3 separate regions of the Homo sapiens genome follow, and regions 1 and 2 are each linked to region 3. Evidence: promoter capture Hi-C in human tissues and cell types (Jung and others, 2019). All regions are on one chromosome and are shown on one strand. The core of a region is centred on a gene start or on the middle of the fragment in contact, and the rest is flanking DNA. Distances in the headings are between cores, read along the strand shown. Region 1 has its middle 27 kb from the start of DAAM2. Region 2 holds the start of SAYSD1 (SAYSVFN motif domain containing 1). Region 3 holds the start of UNC5CL (unc-5 family C-terminal like).

The links. The method cuts DNA at HindIII sites, captures the fragments that hold promoters and counts their contacts. A contact is called where the count stands out against the background at its distance.
Region 1: a contact is called between a fragment that was not itself captured here and the fragment with the promoter of UNC5CL in region 3, in 1 of the 25 tissues and cell types used here (dorsolateral prefrontal cortex).
Region 2: a contact is called between the fragment with the promoter of SAYSD1 here and the fragment with the promoter of UNC5CL in region 3, in 1 of the 25 tissues and cell types used here (spleen).

What each region holds. Positions count from the first base shown.
Region 1 is chr6:39,764,288-39,767,444 of GRCh38, reverse strand. No RefSeq gene overlaps it. Among named protein-coding and RNA genes, the nearest start is that of DAAM2, 27 kb to the left of the region's middle. The HindIII fragment of the contact is 7,239 bases long and covers 1-3,157 here.
Region 2 is chr6:39,113,239-39,116,520 of GRCh38, reverse strand. SAYSD1 (SAYSVFN motif domain containing 1) reads left to right here and starts at 1,335. Exons shown (of 2, transcript NM_018322.3): 1 at 1,335-1,638. The coding sequence starts at 1,432. RefSeq lists an enhancer at 1,452-1,741. The HindIII fragment of the contact is 12,223 bases long and covers 1-3,282 here.
Region 3 is chr6:41,037,911-41,041,246 of GRCh38, reverse strand. It overlaps UNC5CL (unc-5 family C-terminal like), which reads left to right and starts at 2,026. Exons shown (of 9, transcript NM_173561.3): 1 at 2,026-2,085. The HindIII fragment of the contact is 20,650 bases long and covers 1-3,336 here.

The DNA of each region.
Region 1 (3,157 bases), core at 56-2,555, 1.3 Mb after region 3:
CTCAGAAATAATACCACACATCTACAACTATCTGATCTTTGGCAAACCTGACAAAAACAAGAAATGGGGAAAGGATTCCCTATTTAACAAATGGTGCTGGGAAAACTGGCTAGCCATATGTAGAAAGTTGACATATGTAGAAAGTTGAAACTGAATTCCTTCCTTACACCTTATAAAAAAATTAATTCAAGATGGATTAAAGACTTCAATGTTAGACCTAAAACCATAAAAACCCTAGAAAAAAACCTAGGCAATACCATTCAGGACATAGGCATGGGCAAGGACTTCATGTCTAAAACACCGAAAGCAATGGCAACAAAAGCCAAAATTGACAAATGGGATCTAATTATACTAAAGAGCTTCTTCACAGCAAAAGAAACTACCATCAGATTGAACAGGCAACCTACAGAATGGGAGAAAATTTTTGCAATCTGCTCATCTGACAAAGGGCTAATATCCAGAATCTACAAAGAACTCAAATAAATTTACAAGAAAAAACAAATAACCCCATCAACAAGTAGGCGAAGGATATGAACAGACAGTTCTCAAAAGAAGACATTTATGCAGCCAACAGACACATGAAAAAATGATCATCATCACAGGCCATCAGAGAAATGCAAATCAAAACTACAATGAGATATCATCTCACACCAGTCAGATTCTTCTCTTAGATCACAGACTCCACACAAAAAAATCTCCAGTTGGTATTAAAATTTGCCCTATCAATTAAAAATGAAATGGGATGACGAATGGATCTGGAGGGCCAAATGGAAGCCATCTACCACAGTCATTGAACAGAAATATGTTCTACCACCACCTGTCTGGTGCTTGGTAATCTTTCTACATAATGAATGAAATAAACCCACTGAAGTTTGGTCTGTTACAGAGCTGACTCCATTGGTTTTGGGAAATGGGTCAGAAAGAACCTCATCCACCATAAGATAATTAACACCACCATCAGGGAGTTTTCTTAGGTTTCGGTGAACTTCTTAACATGACCCAATTTGGACATCTGATTACCAAAGACTAAGCCAAATGTTAGCATTAAAATTTGGTGTCATGTTTATGCATTTAGTGTAAAGGTAGTGCCTGACCTGTATTTGAATTTGCCACAGAAAGATCAGGTCTGATATTTCATGCGCAGCAGGAGGTTCATGGGACCTGAATCGCTGTAATGAAGAAAAAGCCGCTGAACAGTTCCCTGGTGACGAGTTAATCAGATTTCACCAAAGATTTTGCCACACTGTGGAAAAGAATTTACATATGGGAGACTTTGGCTTGTTGCCTCTACATTTTGTCTCTTTCTTCTTTGAAGCAAAGTATTTACTACACGGTGACTTTTTAAAACTGACCATTTAATTTGGGGAAACAACTTTTTTGTATAAAGGGAAAACTCAACTTCATGTGTTTTCCTCCAGCTCCCCTGACTTTTTGAGACTATGTATTTTGCTGTTGGGGAACTTTTCCCTCGTCAGTTATACAATAAAGTCTTTGTTGTTCAGCATTCTATTAACCACAACCCTCCAGTAACCAGCACATCTGTAAATCTCTAGTACAATAATTGTTGTTCATAATCATGACCCAGGGGCTCTGCGTGGTCTCAAATGCCTTCTGAACCATCAAAGAGAACATACTGAAATGAGCTTGCATTCCCAGAGCACACATCAACCAACCACAGAGGGCAGGAGTCCAGAAAGTGCTAGGTAGAAGAAGAACTAAAACAGGAATGTTGAATTTGCCACAGGTACTTCCCCCTGTGGATAATGAATACCTACAGTACACTGGTTAGACCTTTCTGCTGTTTCTGTGCGTTTCTTTGTGCACAATGTAGACTCAACCAAAATATTAATGCTTGTGCTCAACTTTTGAAAGCACACAGCTGTAAAGGCAGATGTCAGTGTACCCAATTAAATCAAGGCTGTTTGTGCTTAATTTGTATTATCCATTGACAAATTAGAGTTAGTTAAAAAGCTTTTAAAATTTGAAAGTTTCTGAGCTTAAGAGTGGGTGAGATGTACCCTCTCTACTTGGCTGCTCCTACACTATAATTCCCATATGCTGACCACAGAGCAGCAAATTCATAGGTCATTTGCAGGCCTCAGGATGGACAAAACCAAGCATCACATGGAATGCTCTGTGTACATGAAAAAATGAAGAAGGTAATCAGGAAAAAGAGATTGGAGTTGAGAGGTGCAGTTTTATGACCAGGCTGATCAGGAGTCCCAGATCAAGCTCACTTGTTACATATAACACTGCAGGAGAAAGATTAGACAGTATGCTTCTTCAACATGAGGTGAATTTCATCCTGGAGGAAAATCAACTAATTCAGCCCAATGTAAGGTTTAAATATAAGTTAGGTTTAACTATCATCAAGCACTGGGATTGAAAATGTATAACTGGTTGATTTGCAGGTGGGGAAAAATCAGTTAGATTAGGGAAGATTCTGTGCATAGTTACCAGGAATGTCTGTTCATAGCAAAACAGAACATATTTTATATTGAACAACAACAACAAAAGCAGGATGTCATGATTTCTACAGATGCAGATAAGCCAATCAATAGAAGGAAGTTTTCAAGTGTTTATGGTACAGTTGCCCTTGTTCTCTCTACCTTCCTTCCCCTAACCAGTTCTAGTCTTGTTTCTATATAAAATTATAACCCTCCTTGATTCACCATTTAACATTTCATAAAGACTATGCCACTGAGATAAATGAGAAAATGCATGTTTTCAATGATAGACCTTTTTTTTGGTATGTGATCTAAAAAGTGTATTTTCTATAGGCACCATACTTCCTGCAGTTGAGCATCATACCTGACTCTGGTCCTACCAGAAGACAACAGCCTATCATGGGTTATGGCCATCCTTGCATCTTCCAACATCCATATTTTCTACCCAAATACCCTACATCACCCCAGTGGTCTACCTAGCACCTAGGATGCTACTTGCATTTGGGCCAGAACAATTCTCCCCAAGAATGTGGCATGCTTGGATATTTAGCATCCCTGACCTCTCTCCACTAAATGCCATAGCACTCTTACCACCACCAAAAGTCTTTAGGATGACCACATTTGCAAGAACTCCCTAGGAGGGTACTTCTGTCTTCCTGAATGAAAACCAGGGATTGCAAAGCAGCAATAGGGAAGCCACTTGCAACCAG
Region 2 (3,282 bases), core at 86-2,585, 1.9 Mb after region 3:
TCTTTCCTCCCTCCCTCCCTCCCTCTCTCCCCCTCTCTCCCTCCTTCCCTCCTTCCCTCCCTCCCTCCCTGCCTCCCTCTCCCTCCTTCCAATCCAGTCATAACAGCCTCCCTGATGTTCTGTGAACAAGTCAAGCGTGCTATTTGAGGCCTCGGGACCTTTGCACTTGTTCCTCTGACTGAAACACTCCTGTTCAGATATCTACATACCTCACTCATTTAAGTCTATGCCCAAATGACAAACCTTCAGGGAGGTCTTCTCTAATACCTCCACCATTGCCTACTTTGCTTCACTTTTCTTCACAGCACTTATCAGTACCTGATATGACATGAAATATGTAGATACACATTTGTTTATTGTCTGTATTTCCATTTGGAGTGTAAGCTCTAAGAAAACAGGTTTTTGTTTGTTTTTTCCTTTCATCCCAGCATCCCCAGTGCCTGTGACTTTAGACAGAGCAGGCCCTAGGTAAACGTCTGTTAAATGAATGGATGACTCTGTTCTAATTTGTCTAATTTCTCGAGTCACCCTCAGCCAGATCCAACAAATATTTGAGTCTTAATTATGTAAGTGACACTTAGCTAGATGCTTACAGCTTTAAGAACGTATAAAACAGCCCCTAACCTGAACTGTGTCCTTTTGGGAGGGTACTGATTGGGAGAGGGCACAAGGAAACTCCCAGAGTACAGAAATGTTCTTTCTCTCCATCTGGGTGGTAGTTACACAGGTGCATACATAAGAGCAAATCTACTGAGTCATATTCTTAAGATGTGTATTTTATGTTGCACCCCAATAAAAGTTTTTGTTGTTGGTTTTTTTAAGGTTCTGACGTATCTAGACACAAAACGAGATAATTTCCCAACGTGGCAAGACCAATGATGGAGCTGCACAGCCTGCTTTGTGAGCAGTGAGAAAGTCACCCTCCAGGTACTAAGATTGGCATACCCTTTCCTTGATAAGAGAAAAAGGGTAAGATGTAGCCTGTTATTCCTCTGACGCTGGAATGTCGTAGAGATCACGGGCCTCTCCTAACCCCTGGAACCATCTTCTCACTGTGGCGCTGTTCATTGGGGCCCAGCAACAGAGATCCCGAATACAGGACGCTGGATCAGTGGGGCCTCGAGCCCTTAAGTGAGATGCAGCAAGGCAGAGCGGCCTTTGGGAGAGGGCAATGGGGCAGCCCTGTGCTTTAGACTTGGCTTGAGGAGGTGACACTGTGTCCACGTGCCTGTGAAGAGAGAACGGCTGAGTATACACGCGACCCGCCAGACTTCACAAACGGAGGAGACGCGGGTCACACCAGTGCGCATGCTCAGCAGGGGCTTCTGCCACGCAGGCGCACGGCGGCCGGCGCGGGCCGAGCGGAGGCAACTGCTGTGCGGCCTGCGGGCGCGCGCTCCCTTATCGGCCAACGGACGCGAGGCGCGCGCCATGGAACAGCGGTTAGCTGAGTTTCGGGCGGCGCGGAAACGGGCGGGTCTGGCGGCCCAACCCCCTGCTGCCAGTCAGGGCGCACAAACCCCAGGAGAGAAGGCGGAAGCAGCAGCGACTCTAAAGGCAGCCCCAGGCTGGCTAAAGCGGTTCCTGGTATGGAAACCTAGGCCCGCGAGTGCCCGGGCCCAGCCCGGCCTAGTTCAGGTGAGACGATGGAAACTTCGGCCCTAGGACCTGGCCTCGGAGCCACAGTCGAGGGCGCGGCCCTAGCTGCCGGGGGTGTGGCCCTAGCTGCCGGAGGCGGGGCTACTGGCCCCCCATCCTGATCGAGGGCCGGACCGCTCATCTCCGGCCACACGTGTCAGCACTGTTACCAGTTTTGACATTTTCTTTCCAGCCCGCGACCCACGCAGGTCCTGATTCCAGCGAGAGTCGAGGGTCCTGGGAGAAAGCACCTCTGCTCTTAAATTATTCACTCCGAATTGAGTTATCGTGACGCCCTGTGGCATTGGGAAACCTCTCCACAACCAAGTTGAGCCACAGCCCTCTGCTAATGGAGGAGGGTAAAAGGTCTAATTGGATACCGATCACAAGTAGCAGTAATTAAAACTTCATTTGATTCGCACCTGGGGCACATGCAGCTAGTAGCCCAGATAGCCTGTGACTTAGAAATGCGTTTGAATACAGAATTTACCAAAGTGTGGTAGCTGTAACTGCCGGTAGTGGCAGAAGCTTATTCCAGTTCCATAGTGAATGTTCAAGACACAAACAAAAAAAAGTGATTTAGTATGATAACCTTTTCACATTTAATTGTTTTGGTAATCTCTTGTTTTGCAGATGAATTTAATTTGCATCCTTTTGTGTTTTCATTTAGTTTTAACTCAGTAAAATGGTAAGGTGGCTTGCAGTGAGGTTGAAATGTCTATGTGGAAATACAAGACAAAACATATCAAGGGATGAGTGCTTTGTAACAATTTGTGCCCAGTGCTTTGTTCCTCATAAGTGCAATAAGAACTAAAAAATTCCTTTTAAAATGAAAATATACTGGAAGAAAAGTGTACCTTGCTCACCTTAAAATTATTTCCTGTAAGTTCATCTATTATTGCACAACATTTGATTTGAGGGAATTTTTAAAAATTACTGAACCTATTACTCAATTTTGATTTGATATTCTCAGTGATATACAGGATTCCAGCTGACTTGCAGAAAGGTGAAAAGAGCGCAGCAGAGTTCAGACAATCCATTTCCTTGTGTGCAGTTTGTGTTAATTGTCTTTGGATAATTTTATTGTTGACTAGAACTTTCTAAGTACAACACTTGCTTAAGATTTTAGAAACCATTTCCCTTATTCTTTTTCTCTCTGCAGTTAAAAAACAATGTCTAACCCATGCAATGAACTTTTGACTGTATGTCTCATTTCCAAAGGAATGAGATCATTGAGGTGGACCCAGAGAAACTGAATTCAGAGAAAAACTTCCATTATTGAGAACCCAAACGCTGATTGCCAGACAAAAGGATGAGAGGAAATGCTGGACCTCCAGTTTCTTGTTAATTGCTCTGTTTTTCCATAAGGGACTCTGCCTTAAGCTCATTTTCATTGACTTATCATTTCTGGGTTTGCTCTGGTGTGAAAATTCTCATTTAATTTTTTTTCTTCAGATTCTGCCTCTAGTTTAGAAAAGAAAAAGTCTAATTTACAATTCATGTCAGACAATTTTGATGGCACACTGTGGCCTGTCAGAGATTTCTTTAGCATTCTATTTTTTTAAATTATTTTTAATTTTTGTTTTTTTAATTGAAACAGCTTTATTGAAATAAGGTTTACATACTACAGAATTTATCTCTTTT
Region 3 (3,336 bases), core at 777-3,276:
TGGCCCCAAAGAGTTCCTCTCAGGAGGAGCCCCTCTGGTCTGCCAGACCCTCCTTGGTGCCTGGCCTCTGGAGGCTACCCCTTGATGGAATGTTTGAGGGCTTGTGGTGAGGGTTTGACACTGGCCCTCCTGTGACAGCTCAGCCCCCAGTTATAATGCTGTTGATGCCTGTGGTCTTTGCATCCCATGAACCAGCTCTGTGGCCATGGGAGTGAGTGGTAGGAGCCTTCACATTTCTTCAGAGCCTCCTTATAATTGGGATTGTCCCCAAGAGTGGCAAGAACTAGCTTGGGAAGTGAGTTCATAATCCATGAACACAGCCCCTGGTTATAGCCTCCTGGTTGGCATGACCTTCCTGGCTTAGAACCCTAGCTTGACAGATCTTTCACAAACCCCTAGGACTTTATGACTCAGAGGAGAAGGCAGCTGACAAGTGGAGGTGGGTGGGGAGTCAAGGAGGAGTGACCTGGCGCTTCCTGGCAGAAAGTCCTGCCTCCCAGCCGCCCTAAAGAGGGGTAGGGGAGAGTGTCCCTGTCTGTTGGCAAAGTCCAGCCTCCTGTGTGACTCAGACAGAGCTTTGTTCAACAAAGACAAACACCCCTACCCCACTCCTTTCATTCCCTATCAAAGTTCTGAGCACCCCTTCCTGGCTTGTCTTTAGGCATGAGGTCTGCTTCCCAGGTTGCCCGCTCTCTACCATCTCTGCACTTTGGGGTACTGGGCTCCCCTGGGAGGTTTATTCCACCCTCTCACCTCCACCAGGGAAGGAAGCAGAGGGGAGGGCATTGCAGTCAGAGACAAGAGGCTAGAGAATTATTAACTGAGACAAAAGCAGAGGAAGTTACTTATTTTCTATGGGAGATGATAACTAGGGGCCTGGGGGGGCGTTCACCATGCCTCCTCAACTGCAGGAGGCCAGACCCTGGTGACAACGGTTACCATCTATTGACCACCCATTCTGTGGTGGGCATTTGACATTTATTAGCTCAATAATGACAATTATTATCTCACACAAGGTAGATATTCTTAACTGCATTTGACAGACAAGGGAATTGAGGTTCAGAGGAGTTAAGTAGCTTGCCCAATATTACATACCCAACGTGTGGCTCACCTGGGCTCAGTGTTGGCCAGTTGGAGCCAAAATGCATCCTTTTCCCTCTCAACTGCTTCACTCATTCATTCAAGACATGTTTATTGAACACCTTCTATCTATCAGGCTGTACCAGGAGCTGAGGAGACAGCCGAAAACATGGGAAAAGTTCCACAAGGAGTTTTCATTCTTGTGGTGCCACCGCTCCTAGGCAGAGTTTTAAGAACTCAGAATGGCAAATGGCCCCAAAGTTCAGTTGTCTCCCAACCGGCAGTGTCTCTGCCAACTTTGGGTGGGGGAAGTAGAAAGCACCTTGTGTAAGGAAAAATATGGGTACATCTCAGGTCCACCAGCAACTGGTGAGTCATTAACCGTCTCAGTGGCTCCACTGTCTTCTCTGTGTGGGGAGCGGGTGGAACTAGATGCTCTCTAAGCTCCTTGGACCGGTTGCATTGGCATCAGCTGGGAGCTTCTTTGAGCTGCAGAATCTCAGGCCCCATACTAGACCTACAGAATCAGAGCCTGCATTTTAACAAGATCTCCCAGGTGACTGTTGTGCACATTATAGTTTAAGAAACTCAGATGAAGGTTCCCTCCTCCTCCTATCTGCTATTTTAATAATAGCCTCTGGCTGGGGACAGCCACTCACCAGCAGAGGGCACTGTAAGGAGGGGTTTCAAGGTGCAGCACCTACACCCAGGTTGTCTCCCTGCCTCCCTCCTTCCTTCCAGACCTAGACTGGAAAGTTCACTGACTTCTGGGATCCTCAGCTAATCCCTTACCTGGGCTGGACTTTGCCAATAGACAGGGACACTCTCCCTCACCCCTCTTTAGACAGCTGGGAGGCAGGGCTCTGCCAGGAAATGCCAGGCCACTCCTGCCTGGATTCCCCGCCCACCTCCACTTGTCTGCTGGCCTGCCGACTGAATCTGGCTGACCCTTGTTTCTCGGAGAAGGAACTGGACCAGCCAGCAGCCTCTAAGAGCTCCTAGACGGTAAGTTGAGCACCCCCTTGGGGCAGCTGGAGAGGGGATGGGCATTGTGATGGGGTTACCTGGAGCTTCGGGGGAGGAGCCAGGCCAGCTTAGCCTGCCTGCTGGAGTGTAGGGACCCTCTGCTGGAGGAGGGGAGGAAAATGGGACTTGGCCAATGGGTATGAGGACCACTGGGATGATTCTGTGTCCTGCGGAAATGTCTACTATACTAACAAATGCCATTCATGACTTGGGTTTGGACCATCCATCCCAGTACTTGTTATGTTCTGCAGTAACTGGACATCTATCAGGTGTTGGGGAGGCACAGGGAGAACCAGTGAGGTGGAGGAAAGGTTGAGAGTTTTCTTAAAGGGTATGAGCAGAACTTTGCAGCAGGAGTTTGGATCTTTGTGCTGGAGGATGCAACTGCCTAGGGACAGGTGATGGCAGCATTCTAAAGGACTCTCGTTTCGGGGACCCGCTACCCAGGGTGATCTGGGGTCTGGAGCAAGACAGACTGGAGGAGTGGGTAATGAGGAGTCCAGGCATGGGGTTGGGATGCCCCAAGTCACACTCGAATGGCTGCAGTGCTATAGTTGCCATTCAGCAAGACTCCGGACCTTTCCCCATTCTGGAGCCAGAGGGAGGATGCAGTGAGGGCCAGGGCAGCCTGGAAGAGCAGTCACCCTGGGAGAGGCCCAGTGGGGCTTTGGGAGTGGTGCATGCCAACTTCTCCAGGGTCGGAGGTTGAGCCAGGGGACTCTACTGCACCACCCAGTGAGGTGCACCTCACTGGGGATCTGGACTCTGGTCTTTGGTGGCCCCAGGAAGGTTACTGCTGTGTAAGCGAGCTGGGGCCCCTCCTTTCATCCCTTTAGCAATTCCATCCCCTGCCACTGGTACCTTGGTAGGTGGGGGTGTGGTGTAGTGGGGTGGGTATTACCACATAACTGAGGATGTAAATTTAGGTCCTTCTATTTGTCTTTACTTCATTTTTGCTTCTTTCTCTTCCAACTTTATTTCTTCTAGAGAAGGAAAGGAAGATACTTGGGGAAAAGAAGGGGTGGAGAGAGAAAGGGGGTATCTCTGGAAGTCCTTGTTCGTCTTTGCTCCTCCTTCCTGCCTGTCTTCAGTTGTTTAGTAATTCCCTATCCATCTTCACTGTGGGGAGAAAGCTCGGATTCCTTATCTGTGAAATGGAGATAAAAATAACACCTCGCTCCTAAGGCTGCTGTGAGGATGAGATGAGACAAGCCATGGAGAGTGCTTTAA